2 separate regions of the Homo sapiens genome follow, and region 2 is linked to region 1. Evidence: promoter capture Hi-C in 16 types of primary human blood cells and fetal thymus (Javierre and others, 2016). All regions are on one chromosome and are shown on one strand. Each heading gives the region's core, a stretch centred on a gene start or on the middle of the fragment in contact. The rest is flanking DNA. Distances are from core to core; before and after follow the strand shown. Region 1 holds the start of HSD3B2 (hydroxy-delta-5-steroid dehydrogenase, 3 beta- and steroid delta-isomerase 2). Region 2 holds the start of HAO2 (hydroxyacid oxidase 2).

Region 1 (4,652 bases), core at 584-3,083:
AAAGGATTCTCTGTTTTTATCTTCATACAGGCCCTGCCCATCCATTATGCTCCCTGCATTTTCACCATAGCAGAACTCTTCCTCTAGACTGAGCATTGCTTTTTCCTGGTATCAGATGTTAGATTGTAAATATTGCTGAGACATAAGGATTACAAACATTTAATATCAGTCATGTGTTAATATCTGTTCACTATTAGAACAGAGAGTGGAGGAAATTGGACATTTAAAGAGGTCAGAGAAGAGTGAAAGAAGAGGAGAGTGTCAAGGGGAGCTTCTGTGTGAACAGGGCAGGACCTTCTAGGCAGCCAGAACCTGCATGAAGAAGATACATAGTTCCCCCAGTCCCCTGGGTTGGGAGGAAAACATGGAATTGGTTTGGGGCACACAGAGAGGCAAAGGGAGAGACTGAAGACCCACCAAGGATTAGCCCGGGGGTCAAGTGATGAAGCTTCTGGAATGAAGCTCTGGTCTGAGCTCTGCTACACATTAATCAGCTGTTCTTGGCAAGTAACTTTATGTTTCTGGAACTTGATGGGTTCATTGTCCAGTTGGAGGTGACCCCTTTTCTACCTTCCTCACAGGGTTATTTGCACAAAGAGTTACTACAGCAAATTCTGCAGTCAATTTATTTGGAGTATTGAACAACAGATACAAATGGTTTTTTTTTAAAAAGGCTATATATGAGAAATATAAATGAGGCATGTTGGCCTCATACTGCCTTTTACTCTGTCTCTGCTCTGTGCCGTGCACTTGTGCATGCTCTCTTTCTCTCTTTCTCTCTCTCTCACTGATGATCTCTCTCACTTTCACTCTCTCTCTCTTGCTGATGCTCTCCCTCACACTATCTTTCTCATTCATTCTCTGTCTTTCTCATTCTCTGTCTCTGACCTTCTTTCCCCCTCATTTTCTTTCTCTGTCTGACACACACACACAATTACACACACATCCGTACCTTCACTTCCTTTTATTTTGCCCTCACTAAAGATACTAAGGAAGCTATAAAATGAAATGAAGCCTGGGGCAGTCTAGACAGGCAGGACCCACTGGTGAGGTCTCCAGGTAAATGATGTCCTTTGTGAATGTCGCACAGCAATCGCCAAGACAAAAAGCTTCAGAACATAAGAGTTGTAGACAAGAAGGAGAACTCATGTGTGACTCTCTAGAAGAGAAGAAAAGGGGCCTTGAGGCTGACATGGCTGCCTCTCAAGTTCTGCGTCAGGGCCAGAATCCAGTCTCTGGACACCCCATCCAGTATCTTTCACACTATACCATTTTATTCTATTTCCTTTCTGATGACTTTAGATGTGTGACTGGCTTTCATTTGGCTACAACTTTCCTTAACTTGCTAGACAAGGTCAACCTCCCCACACCCATGCAGAGTTTAAGATGGAGCCACAGACCCATGACTCAAGTTTACTTACTAGAAAATTCCTCTCTCAATTCTGGTCTGAAGGCCTTGTCCAAGGCCCTGATCTCCTTCAGTTCCTTCTCTTCCACCAACAGGCGGACGATCCTCTGACCCAGAAGCCCTCCTGCTCCTGTCACAAGGCAGCTCCAGCCCATCGTGGCCAATCCAAAGTAGCAGGAAACACTTGCCAGGAAACAGAAGATGCTGGAGAGCAGATCTGATTCTAGCGTGACCCAGAAGAGGGCTAAAAACAAGAGGTAAAATGGTTATACACTCAGCAGATGCCTTATTTTCCTCCACCCCATTTTTTACAAAAATTCCATGACCCCACAACTGCCAGGAGTAGTTGAAAGAAAAGGAGAAAGCTCTAACCGTAACTTAGATTGTTAAAAGCTGGACAGAGGAGTCCAAGTCCTTACTGCCTCATCCCTGGAGGAAGGACTGGAGCTTTATGCTCTGTGGCTTGTGTCTCAGCCCTTATTACCTTGAACTCCTGCCACATACTCATTGCTCCCTCCTCCTCCAGAATCCCTTTTCTCAGAATAATAGTGACCTTTAGGTTATATCTCTAATTCTTCCCAGGAACAGGAAGAGAAATCCAATCTTAAGGCCACAGTGTGATAAAGAGTCTTGGCTTTAGCCTTAACAGAACACTGGTCAGTTGATACCAGCTGTCTGGGATCTGCAATCTGTGAACTTAAACCAAACTGGGAGAAGTCTCCAAGTGCAATGTAAATGTTGTCCTTGTACAGTAAATCCACCTGGAGGGAGATCTATTTTAGCCCATTATCAACTCTCTGAGAGTGTCATTTGAAACGTCACTGCTGTCTTGCAAAGTTTAGAAATTTTCAATGGTGACAGCTCCAATCACTAAGTTTTATGTGAGGTGACTTTCTTTTCCACCCAATATATCCAAAACCTCAATTGCAATTTTTCCCTGGAGAGCTCTGGGTTCCTAATGGAAGAACCTCATTGAAGGAAAGGTATCTAGTGATAACGAATTAATCATATGGCCTGTAATACAAGTGTGGGGATTTGTAGTTGTATGCCCAATGACTCTAATCATAGATATTTGCACTCATCTTACATTTTTGGCTGCAAAACCATTCTTAGCAAATTGTTGAACTGAAGATGCTATGAATGCTTCTGAAACCTATGCCCCAGTCTGCCCAAACATCACTGCCATAAACTCCCCAAGACACTTTTCTCTACTTAAAAAAATAGAGATGTAGTTTTTTTAAGTAGATGTAATCTGGGCATTACAAGGCCCAGATCTTAAGCGTTCAGTGTACACTTAAGTGTTCATTGTCAATGAACCTTGACAGTTATATATGTCCATGTAAGTACCAACGAAAAGAAGACCACCATTTCCTTCACTCCAGAAAGTTTTATCTGCCTGTTCTTAGTCAATTGCCTGCCCTCCCCCGAGTTTACCTGGTAGGCAATTACTTTCTGATTTTTATTCCCACAGAGTTCCCACTTTATTCCTATATTTTCCTAATTTTTTCTTCTAAGATCTTTGTGATTCTGGATATATATTTAAATATAAAATCATTCTGAACTGAAGTTTTGTTCATGGAGTACAGAAAAATTGACCACTGATTGTCTCTATTGTTTGTTCATTTTTCTATTTCATGATTTTCATTATTTTTATTATTGGCTTAAATGTTTATTAACTTTGGGTTTATTTTACTCTTCTTTTTCAGGGTTCTTATGATAAAAGCATAGATAATTGACTTTACTTCTTTGCTCATTTCCACCATAGGCATTTAAAGTTGTAAATTTCTCTCTAAACACTATGTTAGCTGTATCCAACATTTTGATGCATTGGGTTATCATTATTCAGTTACTGACGTTTTGAATTTTTTCTTGTGATGTCTTCTTTGACCCAAGTGTTATTGAGAAGCATGTTGCATGTTTTCTAAAACTGGGGATTTTCTTATTGTTATGTATTTCTAATTAAATATTATTGTGGCCAGAGCATATACTCTGTATGATTTTGATTCTTTGATATATATTGAGATTTGTTTTATGGTCCAGCCTATGGTCTATGTTGGTGGAAATGCCATAAGCACTTCAAAAGAATGCTTTCTGAAGTTGTTGGAAGTCATACTCTACAAATGATTTAGCTTGACTCCCCATTCTGGGTCTTGCCTTTCTCCTGTGTGTAGACATTCACCTTCTACTTGGAACCTGGCTGCCAATGCTTCAAACCCACTTGCCTAGGAAAGGTTGGTCCTGTGATGCAAGGTGTAGCAGCTTGTCTTCTGAAGCTCTCAGAACTAGACACGGGCCCTGGGACTTGTGGAGCACTATCTGAAACCACCCAGGTGCATCACACACCTTTGCCTGCCATATCAGATGCTGGAGTGCACCTTACAGACCCCCATGACCTTCAGGGTGGGACCAAATGTTCCTTCAGCTGTTGAGAGTTCTGGAGGCTCTTAGAGTTCAGGCAGTGTCTCTTGGAGTCTGAGTGGAAGCAATAACTGTAAGCTTTCTTTAAACCAATAAATATTTTGCTTTCTTTAGGAAAGTGAGCAGTAGGACAAAGAGCAAGGCTGCTGGGGGCCACACTACCAACTTTCTGTTTTTAAACAGCTTTACTGAAGTATAATTGACATATTATAACATTCCCATTTTAAGTGTACAGTTCAATTATTTTTAGTAAAATTTTAGACTTGTGTAACCATCATCACAATCCTGTTTTGGAACATTTCTATCTTTCCTAAGAAATCCCTCATGCTTATCATTTGCCACCTCTTATTCCCAGCCCCCAGCTCTAGGCAGCCCTCATGACTTCCTGACTCCACAGATTTGATTTTCTGGACACCATATAACTAGAATCATGTAATATGTGGTCTTTTGCATCTGCCTTCTTTCACATAGCTTAATATACTTATGTGTTTCATCTATGTTGTAGCATGTATCAATATTTCATTCCTTTTAGGTGGCAAATTCTATTAAATTGTATGGATGGCTGCCATTAGTTTATTCATTTATCAGTTGATAGATATTTATGTGTTTCCCCCCCTTTTTTTTTTTTTTTTTTGAGATGGAGTGTCACTCTGTCACCAGGCTGGAGTGCAGTAGCATAATCCCGGCTCACTGCAACCTCCGCCTCCTGGGTTCAAGCGATTCTCCTGCCTCAGCCTCCCGAGTAGCTGGGACTACAGGTGCACGCCACCATGCCCAGCTAATTTTTGTATTTTTAGGAGAGACAAGGTCTCACCATGTTGGCCAG
Region 2 (5,123 bases), core at 349-2,848, 46 kb after region 1:
AGTATTTCTGTCATAGTATAATTTAAACCCTCTGTCAGATTTACTCATTAGTTTATCCAAGAAGGTTTATTGACACACACTCTCAGCCAGGGTGGCGGAGGCATATACTGCTCCCCACATGCTTAACATTTCGCTGTTGCTTAAATACAGGCATGGCTCTGTGACTAGTTCTTCTGGCCAATGGCCTGGGAGTGGGAATAGCAGGTGTGAATTCTAGGCCAAGGATTGAAGAGCTGGTATGTGACCCTCCAGCTTTGTTTCCTCCTCTACAGCGATCCTCCATCCTCAAGAAGGCAAAGCTGTAAGAGAAAGGCCACTTGGATTCCCAAAACGCCATTTGGAAAAGGGTAGCCCTGGAGATCAGCTGATATTGTGTAAGGAAGAAATAAATATTTATGTGTTATCTCACTAAGTTGTTAAGGTTTATTCTTTACTATAACATAGCCTGATTTAACATAATATATCAAAGTATTATGCTAAACACTAGAGATATGGGGGGGGACCTTTATCACATCAGTTTCTGCTCTCAAGAAGCTTACAGTCGAAGAAGACAGACTTTCATAGCTCATCATTTGATAGCTGATACGATTTAGAGTACAACAGGAGTCCCTTTGAGGGGAGAGTTACCTGGGAATTTGGCAATATTCCCATTACCTCTCAAATGATATACCACAAGTGATGTTCCACTCAATCTATTCTAGACAAGCTCCAATTCTCATCTATCTTTAAATTAGGTTATTACTGTCTATCTCATAGGGATCTTGTGAGAATTGAAGGATCTTGTAAAATGCAGAATATAGTAGTAGTTAAGAATAAAAGTTTGCGGATTTTGCTTCCTGCTAATGGACGCTTTATTCTGTTCCATTGATCTGTTATCTATCTTTATACCAGTACCTCCCTGTCTTCATTAGCGTTCTTGGCAGTTCTCCGCAGGTTGATCTGTAGATTCAACTTAACACAATCAGAGGCTCTTCATTAGTGGGACTTTGTAACCCATTTGTTCCAAATAAGCTTATTGCTCAAAGGAACTACATTGTTTGAGACACATTAACTTCTTTACTTTTTTAGGAGCATAGCCATGTCACTGTTTTCTTTTGCTTGTGGCCGGGAAGCAGTGGTCAGAATACTAAATATATCCCTGAAGGCAATAGCAATACCTTTTAGGTTTTCAGAACGCTGTCAAGTGAAAACATTTTAACCCATTTTTCCTCCTATGGACACCCACGAATATTCCACCATACAATTCTAAGACTCAACTTCCTAGACTTAACCTTCTCTGTCTGTATCCTTTTTGAAACCAAATCTTCCTTTGCCCATGCCCTCTGAGTTCCCTAACACCTGTCTCCCTAGGACCATCTTTGCCAAGGTCCTTGCCTTGCAAACTCATAGTTGGCTTCCACGATATCTTCCATTCCCATCCTATCTGGCACTTCATCACCCTTCTCAGTTCCAAGCACACAGAACACACTCAATGACAAACCTTATTCTAATGTCTTCCAGTCCTCAGGGAAAGAAGTGTTTAGACGCAGCCACTCAAAGCCTGGCTCACTGCCGGAGGTGTTAGGAAACACACCACATCACTACCCACAGTTCAGGCTAAAGAAGAGGCTGAAGTCTCAAAGTTAATCTTTTAATGAAAACATCCAGCTTAGCAGTAAATAAGCAACTAGGCCAGAGCAAGGTTGACTTTGAAAGAATTTTGCTGACTTTGCAAATTTACTTCAAAATTAAGTGAAGTTTATTACAAAATTAAACTTCAAAGTGAAGTTGTAATTTCCTACCTGAAATCACCCATTCCCTACCTCTAAATTCAAACTTGATGTTGTCCTCTGCTCATCACAGATTGTTAGAGGTAGGGAGTGGATGATTTCAGGTAGGAAATTACAAAAGTCCCCGGGTTGGAGGAGGGGCTTTTTGTGGTGATGGGGTTGGGGTGGGAGAAGAGCAAGCACAGCCTGGGAGCCCATGGGCAGGACAGCAGTGGGGACCCAGGCCAGGACGGTCCGAGCTTTGGGGATTTTGGAGGGTGCATAGTGTAGAGCCCTCCCTGCCCACAGAACTGTTCTGGGGAAGTAATTATGTCTAGATTAATATGGGAGTCAGGGAGAACCAGTGAAATTTTTGAGTGGAAAATTATTCAGGAATGTAGAAGAAATGCTAGGAAAAGCAAACTTAAAAGTACATGGAAAAATAGAATTAATTTCTCCAGAAGAGTTCTGTAGGGGTCCCAGAAAGGTCACTAATTTGTCCAGGTCTGTTCGTCTCCACTCCTCCCCCAGCTCTTGCCACTGCTCCTTAGTATTGCCACAGCTCACGTGTGTGATGCGCTTACGACGTGCCAGACACACTACACGCATTACTTCATTTGATCTTCACGGAAGGTCAATCTTTTCAAGATTGTCTCTTTTTCAGAAGAGAAAATGAGATTAACGAACATGCCCAAAGCCTTTCAGCAGTAAAGAGCAGAATTGGGATTTGAACCTAGCCTGTAGCCAACACACGGAGCAGAGGAGGCCGAAATCCTGAGCTGTACCGATGACCATAGCAGTGGGGTTTGCCTTTCCTTTAGAACCTGTAGTTAGAGAGCAAAATGATGAATTTACCACTGACTTGTCATACCATCTCCACTCAAGGCTCATTGGCTATTTATTTGGAGGGTAATCCCTACCTGCTATCTAGCCACTAGAGGACAGTATTACCTCAAAAATGCTTTCAAAAGTAGCCAAAATCTGGGTTCTGGAAATTTCTTTTCCATAGCAATTTTCACAATCTCCATAATCAGCCTCTAGGCCATGTCCTCGGTCAGCTCTCACAACACCTGGCCTGCTCACAGTCCCCTGATCCAGACCCTCCCTTGCTGTTTTCCAGACTCCGACTCTGTCTCTCCCTTCCAGAAGGAAGCCTGGTGATGAGCACACACTGGAACATGGTGCTCAAGCTCCAAACTGCAGCCACTCACTCACTAACATCCACATGTTACTTAAATTCTCTGTGCCTCAGTTTCCTCATAATACCTCCCACACTGTAATGAGAAGTAAGTGAGTTAATACTTAAAAGATGCTGGCAGTAGATAGAAAGAACAGTAGAGCTTCTCATGAGAGATTCTCAAGTTTGAAATAATGACCTTCTTGGAGACCTTTTAAATCTGATGATTGCACTGAGTTAAAGAACATCATCTCTACAAGGTAACACACTCTAATATCAGCCTCTAATGTTTGCACCTAAGTGAACTAATCTCAAATAGGGGATATAGGGCCACAGGCAGAGCTATTTGAGGCAGCATTTTTGCAGCACCTCTTGAATTCCAGAGAATGGGTCCATGGATAAGACAGACCAGCTTTGGACCCACCAGCAGGCTTGGAGAATGTTTCAGGATGAGGTTATGAAAAGATATTGGTTTTATTCAGGTGGTCATAGGGTACCCATTGAGCAATATGCCTGCTTATTTTGGATGAAGAGAAATGTCGGGTCATTCTTGAGCTGTCATGACCTAGTCTCTTAGAAAGCAAATGTAGTTTCACAGTAGAATAGAATGCCAAAATTCTTCTTAATGGAGGGGATTAAAAACATGCTAAGTCCTCCTGATCACTGTGGTCCTGTCCTAATCCAGCCATCTATTTTTCCTGAGGTAATTCTGGAAGTCAGGATGAGCCCAGGACTTTGCAGTCTGTGCTCAAGCCCATCAGGGTTAAAGATGAACACTTTGGTGCTGTGGTCAGGTTAATATTAGGTTGGTGCAAAAGTAACCGTGGTTTTGCTATTGAAAGTAATTAATGCAAACTTGGGTCATTGCAAACTGAAGCCAAACCAGTCATAGATGGCTAAGTCAAACTAAAGACAGTTTGCGTATTTCTGCAGCCACCAAGCCCCTTATAGGCTGTGAACCTCTTTGTAATGGCTACCCGGTGGATGGGGGCAGCTCTGCAGAGTCAGTTACTGGAAGAGATGGGAAGAAAACCTGAAAGAGAGCCTGCTGAAGACCTTAGTCCAAGGCCAATGACTTCTGTCATAGGGCTGCATTGTTTGTGTTCGCTTTATAGGGTCTAAAGTAGGAAGGAAGTGTGTCCCTCTAGCTGCTGAGCTTGCTACATAGATCAGATCTGACTGGAGGAAGCGGGGTTTCTGGATGTGAAGATGAGTTAGGTAGCTAGAGCTGGGATTGTACACCTTCCCAAGATCATGGAGAAAGTCAGTTGCTGGGCACAGGAAAAACAATCAGGATTTCAGAATCTGCTGGGTATCCGGGGTTGAGGACATGGGTGCCTATGTGTGAAATGCTGTGGGATCCACTGTCAACAGCCTGTTGATGTGAGAGTCCCTGGCATCTTGGAGACAGTGTGTATTCTTCAAGGCATTTATGTTGATCCAGGATCAAACACAACTTACTGTGAGTTAGGTGGCTTCAGCAGGAGAGAAAGTTTCTTCTACTCAGAAAGCAACAATGTGCTCCCTAAAGTCACCTAATATTGTAACATCCTCTGTGCTCAGACACTCAGCACCCTGTGCCGAGCAATGATAAGGCATGTAAACGGCCTAGCATTGCCCTTAGTACCAATAAATGCTCAAGAAATGGTTGCATTATTTTCAATAATAGTAATTAATAACACTTACAGAGCATTTACTATGTGCCAAGCAGTGTATTAAGGGTTTAGCAGTTCTTCACTCATTAGGTGGGGATCATTTTTATCTCTGTTTTACAGATATGGAGGTGGAGGCCAGGCATTCCGGAATTCAAAGCCAGGCATTCTGGCCCCAGAGTCCACATTTAACTATTGTGCTTTTAATTAATACTGCAAAGAGTTGCCAATAGGAGACCAGAGGAGGGCAAGATGGCTTCTGGCTAGGGTGACCAGGGAACACTGCCAGAATGACAGATATTTCAGCTGGCCCTTTCACATAAATTGAACTATATTTTCTTCTACTAGCCCTAGTCCTTGGGTCTGAAACTGAGCCCACAGGTCCTGCTGTTACATGAACTGGGGTATGGGTATATAGCCAAGGCCTCAGGCCTGCTGAACCAAGAGTTTATTCAGCAGGGAGTGGGAAGCCAGTAGTTAAGCTGGTAAGGAACTCTTCAAGACTCTCTGAGTCTTCAAGAAAGTTCTAACAGCCCACTGGGGGAC

The links. The method cuts DNA at HindIII sites, captures the fragments that hold promoters and counts their contacts. A CHiCAGO score of 5 or more calls a contact.
Region 2: a contact is called between the fragment with the promoter of HAO2 here and the fragment with the promoter of HSD3B2 in region 1, in 2 of 17 cell types (neutrophils and monocytes). The highest score is 9.5, in neutrophils.

Annotation. Positions count from the first base shown.
Region 1 is chr1:119,412,331-119,416,982 of GRCh38, reverse strand. HSD3B2 (hydroxy-delta-5-steroid dehydrogenase, 3 beta- and steroid delta-isomerase 2) reads right to left here and starts at 1,833. Exons shown (of 4, transcript NM_000198.4): 1 at 1,781-1,833; 2 at 1,422-1,652. The coding sequence starts at 1,563. RefSeq lists an enhancer at 867-2,066 and promoters at 1,639-2,356, 1,780-2,906. The HindIII fragment of the contact is 2,795 bases long and covers 1,112-3,906 here.
Region 2 is chr1:119,365,260-119,370,382 of GRCh38, reverse strand. HAO2 (hydroxyacid oxidase 2) reads right to left here and starts at 1,598. Exons shown (of 8, transcript NM_016527.4): 1 at 1,481-1,598. HAO2-IT1 (HAO2 intronic transcript 1) reads right to left here and starts at 1,437. Exons shown (of 2, transcript NR_046780.1): 1 at 1,375-1,437; 2 at 52-299. The HindIII fragment of the contact is 4,151 bases long and covers 1,014-5,123 here.